Regions from separate parts of the Homo sapiens genome. Here regions 1, 2 and 3 are each linked to region 4. The links are contacts of gene promoters, found by promoter capture Hi-C in human tissues and cell types (Jung and others, 2019). All regions are on one chromosome and are shown on one strand. The core of a region is centred on a gene start or on the middle of the fragment in contact, and the rest is flanking DNA. Distances in the headings are between cores, read along the strand shown. Region 1 has its middle 31 kb from the start of TOP3B. Region 2 has its middle 49 kb from the start of TOP3B. Region 3 has its middle 71 kb from the start of TOP3B. Region 4 holds the start of RAB36 (RAB36, member RAS oncogene family).

What was found. The method cuts DNA at HindIII sites, captures the fragments that hold promoters and counts their contacts. A contact is called where the count stands out against the background at its distance.
Region 1: a fragment that was not itself captured here is called in contact with the fragment with the promoter of RAB36 in region 4 in 2 of the 25 tissues and cell types used here (hippocampus and lymphoblastoid cells).
Region 2: a fragment that was not itself captured here is called in contact with the fragment with the promoter of RAB36 in region 4 in 1 of the 25 tissues and cell types used here (lymphoblastoid cells).
Region 3: a contact is called between a fragment that was not itself captured here and the fragment with the promoter of RAB36 in region 4, in 1 of the 25 tissues and cell types used here (hippocampus).

What each region holds. Positions count from the first base shown.
Region 1 is chr22:22,011,837-22,015,332 of GRCh38, reverse strand. It overlaps the pseudogene PRAMENP. Among named protein-coding and RNA genes, the nearest start is that of TOP3B, 31 kb to the right of the region's middle. The HindIII fragment of the contact is 6,044 bases long and covers 1-3,496 here.
Region 2 is chr22:22,030,396-22,033,820 of GRCh38, reverse strand. It overlaps the pseudogene PRAMENP, IGL, IGLV4-69 and the pseudogene IGLVI-68. Among named protein-coding and RNA genes, the nearest start is that of TOP3B, 49 kb to the right of the region's middle. RefSeq lists a silencer at 2,297-2,416 and enhancers at 2,487-2,546, 2,687-2,766, 2,064-2,843, 3,207-3,425, 2,844-3,425. The HindIII fragment of the contact is 9,029 bases long and covers 1-3,425 here.
Region 3 is chr22:22,052,115-22,055,338 of GRCh38, reverse strand. It overlaps IGL. Among named protein-coding and RNA genes, the nearest start is that of TOP3B, 71 kb to the right of the region's middle. The HindIII fragment of the contact is 5,123 bases long and covers 1-3,224 here.
Region 4 is chr22:23,143,661-23,147,045 of GRCh38, reverse strand. It overlaps RAB36 (RAB36, member RAS oncogene family), which reads right to left and starts at 1,569. Exons shown (of 11, transcript NM_004914.5): 1 at 1,495-1,569; 2 at 361-441. The coding sequence starts at 429. It also overlaps a transcript of RSPH14 not described here. RefSeq lists a silencer at 1,747-1,816. The HindIII fragment of the contact is 15,551 bases long and covers 1-3,385 here.

The DNA.
Region 1 (3,496 bases), core at 930-3,429, 1.1 Mb after region 4:
GTATCAGTTTAAAAAAAACATTGCCAGACCAGACACAGTGGTTCATGCCTGTAATCCTAGCACGTTGGGAGGCCAACACCAGAGGATTGCTTGATCCCAGGAGTTCAAGACCAGCTTGGGTAACATAGCGAGACATGGTCTCTATTTTTTTTTTTAATAAAATTAAAAAGTTAAAAAAAAAACCATTGCCAAATTCAAAGTCATGAAGATTTGTCTCTATGTTTTCTTCTAAAAGTTTTGTACTTTTAACCTTTATATTTAGGTCTTCAATCCATTTTTAGTTAATTTTTGTATACAGTAGAAAGAGTCCAACTTCATTTTTTTATATGTGTATATCCTGTTTTCCCAACAGTTTCTTTGTTGACAAGACTGTTCTTTCCCCCATTGAATAGGCTTGGCACCCTTGTTGAAAATCAAATGATCATAGATGCGAGAGTTTATTTCTGGGCTCTCCATTCTATTCCATTGGTCTATGTGTCTACCTTAACGAGTACTGCACTTTTATGATTACTGCAGCTTCATAGTAAGTTTTTTAATTTTGGGGGAACAGGGTCTTGCTCTGTCACCCAGGCTGGCGTGCAGTGGCATGACTATGACTCACTGCAGCCTCCTCCTCCTGAGCTCAAGTGATCCTCCTGCCTCAGCCTCCCGATTGTTTTTTGTTTTGGTGGTGGGGGGAGGTTGGTAAAGACGGTCTCGTTTTATTACATAGGCTGTCTCAAATGCCTGGATTCAAGCAGTCCTCCCACCTCGACTTCCCAAAGTGCTGGGATTATAGGCATGGGCCACTGCACGCAGTCTGCAGTAAGTTTTGAAATTGGGAAATTGGGTTCTCCCAACTTTTGTTCTTTTTCAAGATTGTTTCAGCCATTTAGGATCCCTTGAAATTACATATCAATTTTAGGATGAGTTTTTCCATCTTTTGCCTAACACCGTAGAGATTTTTTTTTTTTTAAGATGAAGTCTCGCTGTGTTGCCCAGGCTGGAGTGCCATGGCGCAATCTTGGCTCACTGTAGTCTCTGTCTCCCGGGTTCAAGCGATTCTCCTGCCTCAGCCTCCCAAGTAGCTGGGATTACAGGTGTGCACCACCACTCCCAGCTAATTTTTGTATTTTTGGTAGAGACAAGGTTTTGCCATGTTAGCCAGACTGGTCTCAAACTCCTGACCTAAGGTGATCGCCTGCCTCAGCCTCCCAAAATACTGGGATTATCGGCGTGAGCCACCACACCCAGCCACACTATGGGGATTTTGATAGGGATTGCATTGAATCTGTAAGTCACTTTGGGTAGTGTATTCATGTCCTAGTGATGCCATAGAGAAGTACCCAACTGAGTGGCTTAAAACCAAAATTTGTTCTCAGAGTCCTAGAGGCTAGAAATGTGAAATTAGGTGTTAAAGAACCATACATCCTTTGAAATCTCTAGCAAAGGATCTTTCCTTGCCTATTACACCCTTTGGGTCTCTGCAGACATTCCTTGGCTTGTGGCAATGTAACTCCAACCTTTGCCTCCATCGTCACATGCTTGTCATCCCTCTCTCTTTGGGTCCAAATTTTTCTCCTCTTCTTTAGGGCTGAATAATATTCCATTGTGTATATATACCACATGTTCTTTATCCATTCGTCTGTCAATGAACACTTAGGTTGTTTCCGTTTCTTGGCTATTGTAAACAATACTGCAATAAATTACACTGCAGTGAACATGGGAGTGAAGATACCTCTTCTTGACAGTGATTTTATTCCTGTGGACACGTACCCAAAAATATGATTGCTGGATCATATGGTACTTCTACTTTTAATTTTTTGAGGAATCTTCATACTGTTTTTTCATAAAAGCTATATGAATTTATATTCCCAGTAATAATGTACAAGGGTTCCCTTTTCTCCATGTTCTCACCAACACTTGTTATCTTTTGACTTTTTTATAATAGCCATCCTAACAGGTATGAGGTGACATTTCACTGTGGCTTTAATTTGTATTTCTCTGATGATTAATGATGTTGAGCATATTTTCATGTATCTGTGGACTATTTACGTATCTTCTTTTGAAAAATGTCTATTTAGGTCCTTTATACTTTTTTTTTTTTTTTGAGATGGAGTTTTGCTCTTGTTGCCCAGGCTGCAGTGCAACGGTGCGATCTCAGCTCACTACAACCTCCGCCTCCCAGGTTCAAGCAATTCTCCTGCCTCAGCCTCCCGAGTAGCTGGAACTACAGGCACCCGCCACCATGCCCAGCTAATTTTTGTATTTTTAGTAGGGACGGGGTTTCACCATGTTGGCCCAGGCTGGTCTCGAACTCCTGACTTTGTGATCCACCTGCCTTGGCCTCCCAATGTGCTGGGATTACAGGCGTGAGCCACTGCACCAGGCCTATCCATTTCTTAATTGTTCTGTTTTTGCTGTTGAGTTGTATGAGTTCTTATATATTTCGGGGGGTTTTGTTTGTTTTGGTTTGGTTTTTTTTGAGACACAGTCTCACTGTATTACCCAGGCTGGAATGCAGTGGCACAATCTCAGTTCACTGCAACCTCTGCCTCCTGAGTTCAAGCTATTCTCCTACCTCAGCCTCCCGAGTAGCTGGGATTACAGGCGTGCGCCACCATGCCCGGCTAATTTTTTGTATTTTTAGTAGAGACGGGTTTTGCCATGTTAGCCAGGCTGATCTTGAACCCCTGGCCTCAGTGATCCACCCGCCTCAGCCTCCCAAGTGCTGGGATTTACAGGTGTGAACCACTGCATCCAGCCTGTAATTTTTTCTTGATAGCCCAACATGACGTATAGGATAAAAAGAACTGTAATAAATAGGCTTTTAGTAATATGGTAAGGTGTGAGGGGAGGAAAGTAGTCAGTATTTTCATGACTAGGTCTTGATCTTTTAGTGAGCTTGTGCCTCTGGACTGTGAACTTCACAGGTGCTTCCCAGTTCTTCTCCCCAGTTAGGTGGGAAAGGATGGCTACAGCTGGCTGGAGCTGAGGTTTTCTCTTCTTCCAGGTCATTAGGCTCTGATAAAACCCTAACAGGTTAGGTTCTGGTTAAATACAGTAAGTCCTCACTTAACATCAATAGGTTCTTGGAAACTATTGACTATGACTTTAAGCAAAACCAACTTTTTTTTCCTCATCACCATTGTAAGGAAATGACATTGAACAAATGGACATTATTCATGGCCATATGTATGTCATTTTGCTTAGAGTTGCAGTTTCCAAGAACCTAGTGATGACACTGAGGACTTACTGTAGTCTCTCTTGCACGTGTACCCTAAAACTTAAAGTATAATAATAATAATTTTTAAAAAATAATAAAAATAATTAAAAAAAAGAACAGAACTGGCCAGGTGCAATGGCTCATGCCTGTAATCCTAACACTCTGGGAGGCTGAGGCAGGAGGACTGCTTGAGATCAGGAATTCAAGACCAGCCTGGGAAACATGGCAAAACCCTGTCTCTACAAAATAATAATAATAATAATAAAATAATTTAAAAAGAACAGAATTGGC
Region 2 (3,425 bases), core at 584-3,083, 1.1 Mb after region 4:
AAACTTGAGTCAGATCCTGTGTCTTCCTTGCCCAACCTTCTGATGGCTCCTCTACCCCCAACTGAGCTCTCCTCACTGTGTGATGACATCATATTGTCGCATTGACATTTTTACTTGATTGCCTTATCTGTTCCACCACTCAGTGTCAGCTCCATGAGGACAGGGCCCCTTCCTCTCTTGTTCATCATGTACCTTGAATCCCTGGATCTGAGGCTGGTGCATAGTAGCTTCTCAGTGAATGAGGTGGATAAACAGACCTTTGGGAGTCGACTATCCTGAGTCAGACACAATGACCCTGGTCCTGTTTTGACCCATTATGGATTTGGTTTCCAGGACAGCCTGATCTTGGTATTGAGGGATTTCTCTTAATATGAGACAATACGACAATTTGTTACTGCCAAGGGTTGGGTGTGAGGGTAGAATTGAGAGGACAGAAACACATTCTCCACACTGCGTTCACTGGAGTGAGTTTTAAAATCTAAATTTTTACTAAACAAATGAAAAGCAACGTTAATCAGCTGACTTGCCCAAGAAGTGGGGGCTGCACAGAGAAGCTCCATTGCTGGATGGGCAGCAGCTTTTTCTCCCACTTCCCCACTGGCCTGAAGTACTGCCTGAGCCTTGGTGCTTGTGTCCCAAGCTGAGAATAAAAATCAGCCTTTTCCTCTGCCTGGAGTCCAGAGATGCTCAGAGAGGCCATGTTCTCCAACCTGGAGCCTCAGCATTGGGCCTATGCCCCTAAGGGTCAATGACTGCTTTTATATATGTGGAGCTCTGGGTCTCTCGGAGGCATGTTTGTACCAGAGCACATGCCCGTGCCCAACATTGCTGCTGCTTCTAGTGCAGGAGCTGGTACCCACCTGCCCCACAGATGCATGCACTGCAGGTGGCTGGGTCAGCACAGGCTGGGCTCAGGACGCTGGACATTAAGACAGACACAGGGTGAGAGGTGGGTCAGTGGACAGAGACACATGCATAAACCTTGGTCTTTTGATCACCAGCCCTGACACTGAGCCCTAGCCACCTGTGCAGTGAAGGAGAAGGCGGGGGAGAGACCACAGTGGAGACCCATACATAGCTCTACATCCTGAGGATCATCAACTGAGCCTGGGCTCTCCAAGTCCCTTGTACTCCCTCCAGCAGCTCAGGGTGAGGAGGGCATCCTTCATACCAACCAGCCTCCTCCCCTGGGCTGTCCAAGCCCTTTCCTGGGCCATGACTTCGATCCCTCCCTGAAAAGCTGACACATGAAGAGGATGGTCTTGGTTGATGCTGTTCTGTGGCTCCCTGGGGGCCTATAAGGAAACAGCTGCTGGTCTTGTGAGCAGGGGGTAGAGGGCTCCAGCCCAGGGTCAGGGAGTGGCTCTCGTATGGGGTCTCCAGCACAAGATTTAGGGACAGACCACAGAACAGCCTACTGCTTGAGGTCCAGATGCACCCATGTATCCTGTCTCCTCCACTGTTCACTTTGTCATCCCCAAGAAGGATGGAGATGGGCAGTGTTTAGGCCATAACACACCTTAGTCTCACATCTCCACAGACCCTCCTTCCTGGATATACTTGCTTAGCTCACTGTGAGGTTTATAGGGCAGTTCTGGGAGGCTGGACTCCCTGAGGAGCCTCCACTAGGGGACATCAGAGCAGGAAGCCCAATGGGGACAGGGCTCCCTCCAGGACACAGGGAGCTGCTCCCTCTTTCTTCTCCCTGGGCTGTCTAGAGCCTGCACCCAGACTGCCTTGCTTCTCTCTGGGCCTATTTCTTCTTCTCAGCCCCTCAAGAAATTTGATTGCAGAAAAGGAAAAGATTAAAAAATAAATTTAAAAATATTTGCCAGCACCAGGCATAAATTCTAGGGCAATATGACACCAAGTGCAATTTTGAGAGGAGAGAGGGGAGCCCTAGGTAGGCTTCTGATTCCTAATTATCCTTCCTTATTTGGGCACTAAGAGGCAAATAACATCTTTCAAAGGGCAGGGTCAGCACTCTCTAAATCTGTCCTGAGTACATGGAATGATGACTCTTTCAGGATTTGGAAACAATTTCTAAGGCTCATTTTTCTTCTGTCAAGAGAAAATGGTTAGCTCCACAGGCACTGAATTCAGCATATTTGGAAAATTAGGTAATATTTCATAGTCATCATGATATTTTTGTTTCTGTTTTTAGTTTTCCTGAGACTTCAGAAAACTTGAATGAGAAATTGAGAGTAGAAACATTTTAAACCAGACGGTGCTTCCAAGTGGAGTGTGTACATATAAAACATATTTGAAAATTTAAAACTTGTCATATAACAAGACCCTGAGCAGGCTGAGGTTTCTGTCCCACTTCCTCATCTGCCTGTGTCACTGTGTGAATGCCAGTGCCCCAGGTCTGACAGTAATAGTCAGCCTCATCCTCAGACTGGAGGCTGGAGATGGTGAGGTAGCGCTCAGCCCCAGAGCTGGAGCCTGAGAAGCGATCAGGGATCCCGTCCCCCTTGCTGTGGCTGCCATCACTGTTAAGCTTCATCAAGTACCGAGGGCCCTTCTCTGGCTGCTGCTGATGCCATGCGATGGCGTAGCTGCTGTGCCCACTGCTCAGAGTGCAGGTGAGCTTGACCGAGGCTCCCAGGGAGGCAGAGGCAGAGGGCGATTGAGTCAGCACAAGCTGGGAGAGAGACCCTGAAAACACAGACACCCATTACCGGCTGGAGTCAAGAAAAGAGGGAAGGACATTCCTGGCATAAGTTTGGGAGGTGGTATCAGTGAGCTGGAGGTCAGGGTGCTGAGGGCCATCCTGACCTGTGCAGTGGAGGAGGAGGGTGAGGAAGAGGAGTGGGGTCCAAGCCATGGTGCAGACTCCCCAGAGCTCTGCTGAGGCTGACAGTTGCAGGTATTTCTTACCCACCCTGTAGTCCCAGAGGAGAGAGAGGGGCCCTTCATGCAAATGTGCTCCTCTTCCTCTGCCCAACCAAATCACTCCGTGTGCCTGAGTGTCAGTCCCAGTGGTGGGGTGACATTTCTGGGAGGGGTTACCTGGGCTGGGCCTGGCCTGAGGCTCTCCAAGGGTGCAGAGAGAGCCCAGCTGCTGGCCCCAGTGAACCCTGCGTGGAGACCAAGTTCAAGTGTTTGGTTTCCCAGCTGAGAAACCCACAGAGCCCTCAGCAGCAGACCAACAGCACCCCCTTCTGCCTAGGCCCAGGTCCATCGTGTCTGTGACCAGATGCCAGTGGGTCCTGACAGAGGCTTCTGCCCGGACCAGGGCCTTGACCACGGCCTGTTCTCTGTCCAAGGGCAAAGTGGGACCCCTCGTCAGGGCAGCCTCCTATTTTATTTCAGACTTTAGTTTTCCATTTAGCCCTTTTCAGTGGGAGCGGGACACATGATCCACCCCACTTTGCAAAAGTCCTCAGGAGAAAGGTGTCTCTCATACACGTTCTATTTGGTAG
Region 3 (3,224 bases), core at 699-3,198, 1.1 Mb after region 4:
CAGGCAAAATAACCAGCTAACATCATAATGACAGGATGAAATTCAAACCCAACAATATTAACCTTAAATGTAAATGGGCCAAATGCCCCAATTAAAAGACACAGACTGGCAAATTGGATAAAGAGTCAAGACCCATCAGTGTGCTGTATCCAGGAGACCCATCTCATGTGCAAAGACACACATAGGCTCAAAATAAAGGGATGGAGGAAGATCTACCAAGCAAATGGAAAGCAAAAAAAAAGCAGGGGTTGCAATCCTAGTCTTTGATAAAACAGACTTTAAACCAACAAAGATCAAAAGAGACAAAGAAAGCCACTACATAATAGTAAAGGGATCAATTCAACAAGAAGAGCTAACTATCCTAAATATATATGCACCCAATACAGGAGCACCCAGATTCATAAAGCAAGTCCTTAGAGACCTACAAAGAGACTTAGACTCCCACACAATAATAATGGAAGGCTTTAACATCCTACTGTCAATGTTAGACAGATCAATGAGACAGAAGGTTAACAAGGATATCCAGGACTTGAGCTCAGCTCTGGACCATGCAGACCTAATAGACACCTACAGAACTCTACACCCCAAATCAACAGAATATGCATTCTTCTCAGCACCACATCGCACTTATTCTAAAATTGACCACATAATTGGTAGTAAAACACTCCTCAGCAAATGTAAAAGAAAAGAAATCACAAAAAACTGTCTCTCGGACCACAGTGCAATCAAACTAGAACTCAGGATTAAGAAACTCACTCAAAACCACTCAACTAATGGAAACTGAAAAACCTGCTCCTGAATGACTACTGGGTACATAACGAAATGAAGGCAGAAATAAAGACGTTATTTGAAACCAATGAGAACAAAGACACAACGTACTAGAATCTCTGGGACACGTTTAAAGCAGTGTGTAGAGGGAAATTTATAGCACTAAATGCCAACAAGAGAAAGCAGGAAAGATCTCAAATCGACACCCTAACATCACAATTAAAAGAATTAGAGAAGCAAGAGCAAACACATTCAAAAGCTAGTAGAAGGCAAGACATAACTAAGATCAGAGCAGAACTGAAGGAGATAGAGACACAAAAAACCCTTCAAAAAATCAATGAATCCAGGAGCTGGTTTTTTGAAAAGATCAACAAAATTGATAAACCGCTAGCAACACTAATAAAGAAGAAAAGAGAGAAGAATCAAATAGACACAACAAAAAATGATAAAGGAGATATCACCACCCATCCCACAGAAATACAAACTGCCATCAGAATACTATAAGAACCTCTACACAAGAAAACTAGAAAATCTAGAAGAAATGGATAAATTCCTGTACACATACACCCTCCCAAGACTAAACCAGGAAGAGGCTGAATCTCTTAATAGACCAATAACAGGTTCTGAAATTGAGGCAATAATTGATAGCCTACCAACCAAAAAAAGTCCAGGACCAGACAGACTCACAGCCGAATTCTACCAGAGGTACAAAGAGGAGCTGGTACCATTCCTTCTAAAACTATTTCAATCAATAGAAAAAGAGGGAATCCTCCCTAACTCATTTTAGGAGGCTAGCATCATCTTGATACCAAAGCCTGGTAGAGACACAACAAAAAAAGAGAATTTTAGGCCAATATCCCTGATGAACATTGATGCGAAAATCCTCAATAAAATACTGGCAAACCAAATCCAACAGCACATCAAAAAGGTTATCCACCACGATCAAGTCAGCTTCATCCCTAGGATGCAAGGCTGGTTCAACATATGCAAATCAATAAATGTAATCCATCACATAAACAGAACCAGCGACAAAAACCACATGATTACCTCAATAGATGCAGAAAAGGCCTTCGACAAAATTCAACAGCCCTTCATGCTAAAAACTCTCAATAAACTAGGTATTGATGGAATATATCTCAAAATAATAAGAGCTATTTATGACAAACCCACAGCCAATATCATACTGAATGGGCAAAAACTGGAAGCATTCTGTTTGAAAACCAGCACAAGACAAGGATGCCCTCTCCTATTCAACACAGTGTTGGAAGTTCTGGCTAGAGCAATCAGGCAAGAGAAAGAAATAAAGGGTATTCAACTGGGAAAAGACGAAGTCAAATTGTCTCCGTTTGCAGATGACAAGATTGTATATTTGGAAAACCCCATCATCTCAGCCCAAAATCTCCATAAGCTAATTAGCAACTTCAGTAAGGTCACAGGATACAAAATCAATGTGCAAAAATCACAAGCATTCCTATACACCAATAGTAGACTAACAGAGAGCCAAATCATGAGTGAACTCCCACTCACAATTAATACAAAGAGAATAAAATACCTAGGAATCCAACTTACAAGGAATGTGAAGGACCTCTTCAAGGAGAACTACAAACCACTGCTCGATGAAATAAAAGGGGACACAAACAAATGGAAGAACATTCCATGCTCATAGATAAGAATAACCAATATCATGAAAATGGCCATACTGCCCAAGGTAATTTATAGATTCAATGCTATCCCCATCAAGCTACCACTGACTTTCTTCACAGAATTGGAAAAAACTACTTTAAAGTTCATATGGAACCTAAAAAGAGCCTGCATAGCCAAGACAATCCTAAGCAAAAAGAACAAAGCTGGAGGCATCATGCTACCTGACTTCAAACTATACTACAAGTCTACAGTAACCAAAACAGCATGGTACTGGTACCAAAACATATATATAGACGAATGGAACAGAACAGAGGCCTCAGAAATAACACCACGCATCTACAATCATCTGATTTTTGACAAACCTGACTAAAAAAAGCAATGAGGAAAGGATTCCCCCTTTAATAAATGGTGCTGGGAAAACTGGCTAGCCATATGTAGAAAGCTGAAACTGGATGTCTTCCTTACACAGTATACAAAAATTAACTCAAGATGGATTAAAGACTTGAATGAAGACCTAACACCATGGCCGGGCACGGTGGCTCACGCCTGTAATCCCAGCACTTTGGGAGGCCGAGGCGGGCAGATCACAAGGTCAGGAGATCGAGACCATCCTGGGTAACACGGTGAAACCACGTCTCTATTTAAAAATACAAAAAAAAATTAGCCGGGCGCAGTGGCAGGTGCCTGTAGTCCCAGCTACTTGGGAGGCTGAGGCAAGAGAATGCAGGAACCCGGGAGGCGGAGCTTGCAGTGAGCCGAGATCACGCCACTGTACTCCAGCCTGGGCTACAGAGCGAGACTCTGTCTCAAAG
Region 4 (3,385 bases), core at 320-2,819:
CCAGGCACCCAATATGAGAGGAATTACCTTCATGTAACAGTGGCTCTGAGAGGTTGAGTAATTTGCCCACAGCCACACAGCTTAATGACAGAATCAGAATGAAGGATTCACATCAAGGACTGTCTGGCTGCAAAATCCCAGCCCTTATAACCTCCAGGCCACACTGCTGCCCAGTGTCACCATTAACTTGCGGTCCCACCTTGGGCAGTCAGTGACCAGTCTCCCAGCTCCTCAAGGTAAATCTGACAATGGACAGACCTCCTTGATTCACCTGCTTTACTTCTAGGCATGAGTGTAGAGTGGGGAGAGCTGATGTGGCTGCAGGGCCAGGAGAGCACTGCAGACGTAATGACTCTCTACCTTAGGGAAGCTGGCGATGACACGGTCGCGGCTCACAGGGGGCCCCAAAGGTGTCAGGGAGGACCTCATTCTTCCACAGTCCTGTGGACCCAACCAGGAGAAAGACAGTTAAGGAGCTGTGCAAATACCTGGGGATTCACCCATGAGTTTCCACCTAACTTTTCATCAGATCCAGGCTGGGTGCAGTGGCTCATGCCTGTAATCCCAGCACTTTGGGAGGCCAAGGTGGGAGGATCACTTGGGCCCAGGAGGTTGAGACCAGCCTGGGCAACAAAGTGAAACCTCAGTCTCTACAAAAAAAAACCAAAAAAATTAGCAGGGCATGGTGGCCTGTGCCTGCAGTCCCAGCTACTTGGGAGGAAGGTGGGAGGAATGCTTGAGCCTGGGAGGTCAAGGGTGCAGTGAACCGTGAAGGTGCCACTGCACTCCAGCCTGGGTGATAGAGTAAGACCTTGTCTCAAGAATTATAAATAAAACCAGATCCAGGCTTCCCTCTCTGTCAGGAATATGGGGCAGAGGCCATTTCTCTCAATCTGCATACAGCAGGCAGCATGGTATGGGGGAACCAGGCCTGCCCCACCCTGCCTGGGAGTCAGAAGACCTGGGTCTCCCCTTGACAGGTGTCTACCAAGGAGGAGCTCCCCTCTGAGCTTACCTTACTGGGCTGTGAGGCATGGCACAGCTCAGGCAGTGGAAGTAGAGTGGGGAGGGGTCTCCTGCTCCCAGTCTGCAAAGGACGAAGGCTCTAGGTGGGCCTGGGGGCCTTAACTTTCAGCCAACTAGGCCTTTTCCCTGAAAACCCTCACTTCACCAGGCCTCTGACTCCTCGAGCCTCCTCAACAGCCCCTCTGTCTCCTTTTTCTGTCCGGACTCCTCTCCAGGCTGGGCTGGGGTGGTCCTGGCGGAGTCCGGTTGTCTTCCCGCATCTGACCTGGCTCTCCTCCACAACCAGCGCGGGCCTGGCCCAGAGTTTGCGCTCCGGAAATGAGGACGCCCCGGGGCCGCAGGCCGCTTTCAAGTTATAGGGGCGGGAAGTGGGCGCGGACGCTGTGCCCTCGCGGCCCTGGCCTCGGGATGTGCCAGCACGGGGTTGGGTGACCGGGAGGGTCGGACAGAGTGGGCGAGCTGACTCACCAGCGATGGCTGTGAAAGCTGGGGCTCCGCGCGGCCTGGTCCGCCTGAGCCAGCGGCGGCGATCACCATGGCAACGAGAGCCACGCGGGACCTGCGGGCTACACGAATCGTCGACGTCGTGGGCGGGGTCTGCGTTGGACTGGCAGCGGCGCGTCCAAGCATCCAGCTTGCACCGGCGATCACCATAGCAACGAGAACCTGCCTGGAGTCTGGGCGGGGCTGGCAGCAGAGAGACTCCTGGACACCCTGGAGAGCCGGAGATCACCATGACAACAAGGGCGGTGCTGGATGGGTGGGCGGTGGGCGGGGCTATGGAGGCCCGGGGGCGGAGCCTGAGCCCTGGGTGGGGCTGACCGTGGAGAGATTCGCGCAGGTTCTGGTGATCAGCTCGGCTGGGAGAGGTTGGGCGGTTATGGCATAAGAGCTCCTGATGTGGTATTGATGTTTAATTGGAGTCAAGCACCCTGCAGCTGCAGAAGATAGACCTGCCTACCATCTACTGACCTTAGTCTGCATAGTTCTGAATCCAGTGCTGTCTGAATATCATATGCCTGGCTTCTAGAGCTCACGGTACAAAATTAATTTCCTTAATAAAAAGCTGACCTGAGTCAGTGATTTCCTCTGAACTAGTTTCGGTTTGGAAAGTTAGCTGTTTTGGGCTAGATGGCCTCTTGTGGCCCTTATAAAACCGTGGAACCAGCTTCGAAGTCCGGGGTTCAGTTTGAGAACCTACTTAATTCAGCTCCTTAACTTTTCTGCATCACAATATGGAAGCCTTGGTACACAGATCTAACTCAGTCATCTTCAATTCAAAGCTAAGTGTGCTGGAGGCTGGTGTTTGATGTCTTTTTTTTTTTTTTTTAAAGAGATGGAGTCTTGCTATGTTGTCCAGGCTGGACTCGAACTCCTAGGCTCAAGGAATCCTCCCGCCTCAGCCTCCCCAGTCCTTGGGACTACAGGCAAGGGCCACCACACCTGGCTCTGTTTAATGTCTTTTAGTGAGTTTCACTGCTAAGGTTGAGGCTTAGGGGGTGAACTTAGGTGAGTTGTTCCACCTTCCGCACCTCAGTTTACTCAACTATAAAATAAACGCAACTATCTATTTCAATGGATCACCTGAGATGGTGAAAGTGCTTTTATACTGTAAAGCTTGATTCAAGTCCATTAACTATTCATTTGTCCTACATGTACTGAAAGCTTCCTGGTATATGCCTAGCACTGGGGAGACAAGGAAAGAGAACGGACATGGTGTCCACCCTCAGGGAAATTGGAGTCCACTGCGGGAAGCAGAGAAGTAAATAGAGAATTAGGGGAAGGGAGTGTGCCAATGGGATTTAGGAGAAGGGAAGATTAAGCTGTGGGGTCACTTACTAATTTGGATTTGGGGATTTGGCAGGAGCTAGAGATCACCCTGAACTCCTCCTTTAGCTGTTTTTTTTTTTTTTTTTTTTTTTTTTTTGAGATGGAGTCTCACTCTGTCGCCCAGGCTGGAGTGCAGTAGTGTGATCTCGGCTCACTGCAATCTCCGCCTCCCGGCTCAAGCGATTCTCCTGCCTCAGCCTCCCGAGTAGCTGGGACCACAGGTGCGCACCAACCATGCTTGGCTAATTTTTAAATTTTTTTAGTAGAGATGGGGTTTTGCCATGTGTGCCAGGCTGGTTTTGAACTCCTGGCCTCATGTGATCCGCCGGCCTTGGCTTCCCAAAGTGTTGGGATTACAGGCGTAAGCCAGCACACCTGGCCCCAATCCTCCTTTAGCTCTTAAGTGGGCTCTTTGCCTAGATCTAGAAACCAAACTGACACTGGGCAGATTAGCAAGAGAAAAGCATACAAGTGTTATTAGTTTTACATGCGCATGGGGATCTTTACCAGAGTGAAGTCTAGAGAAGTG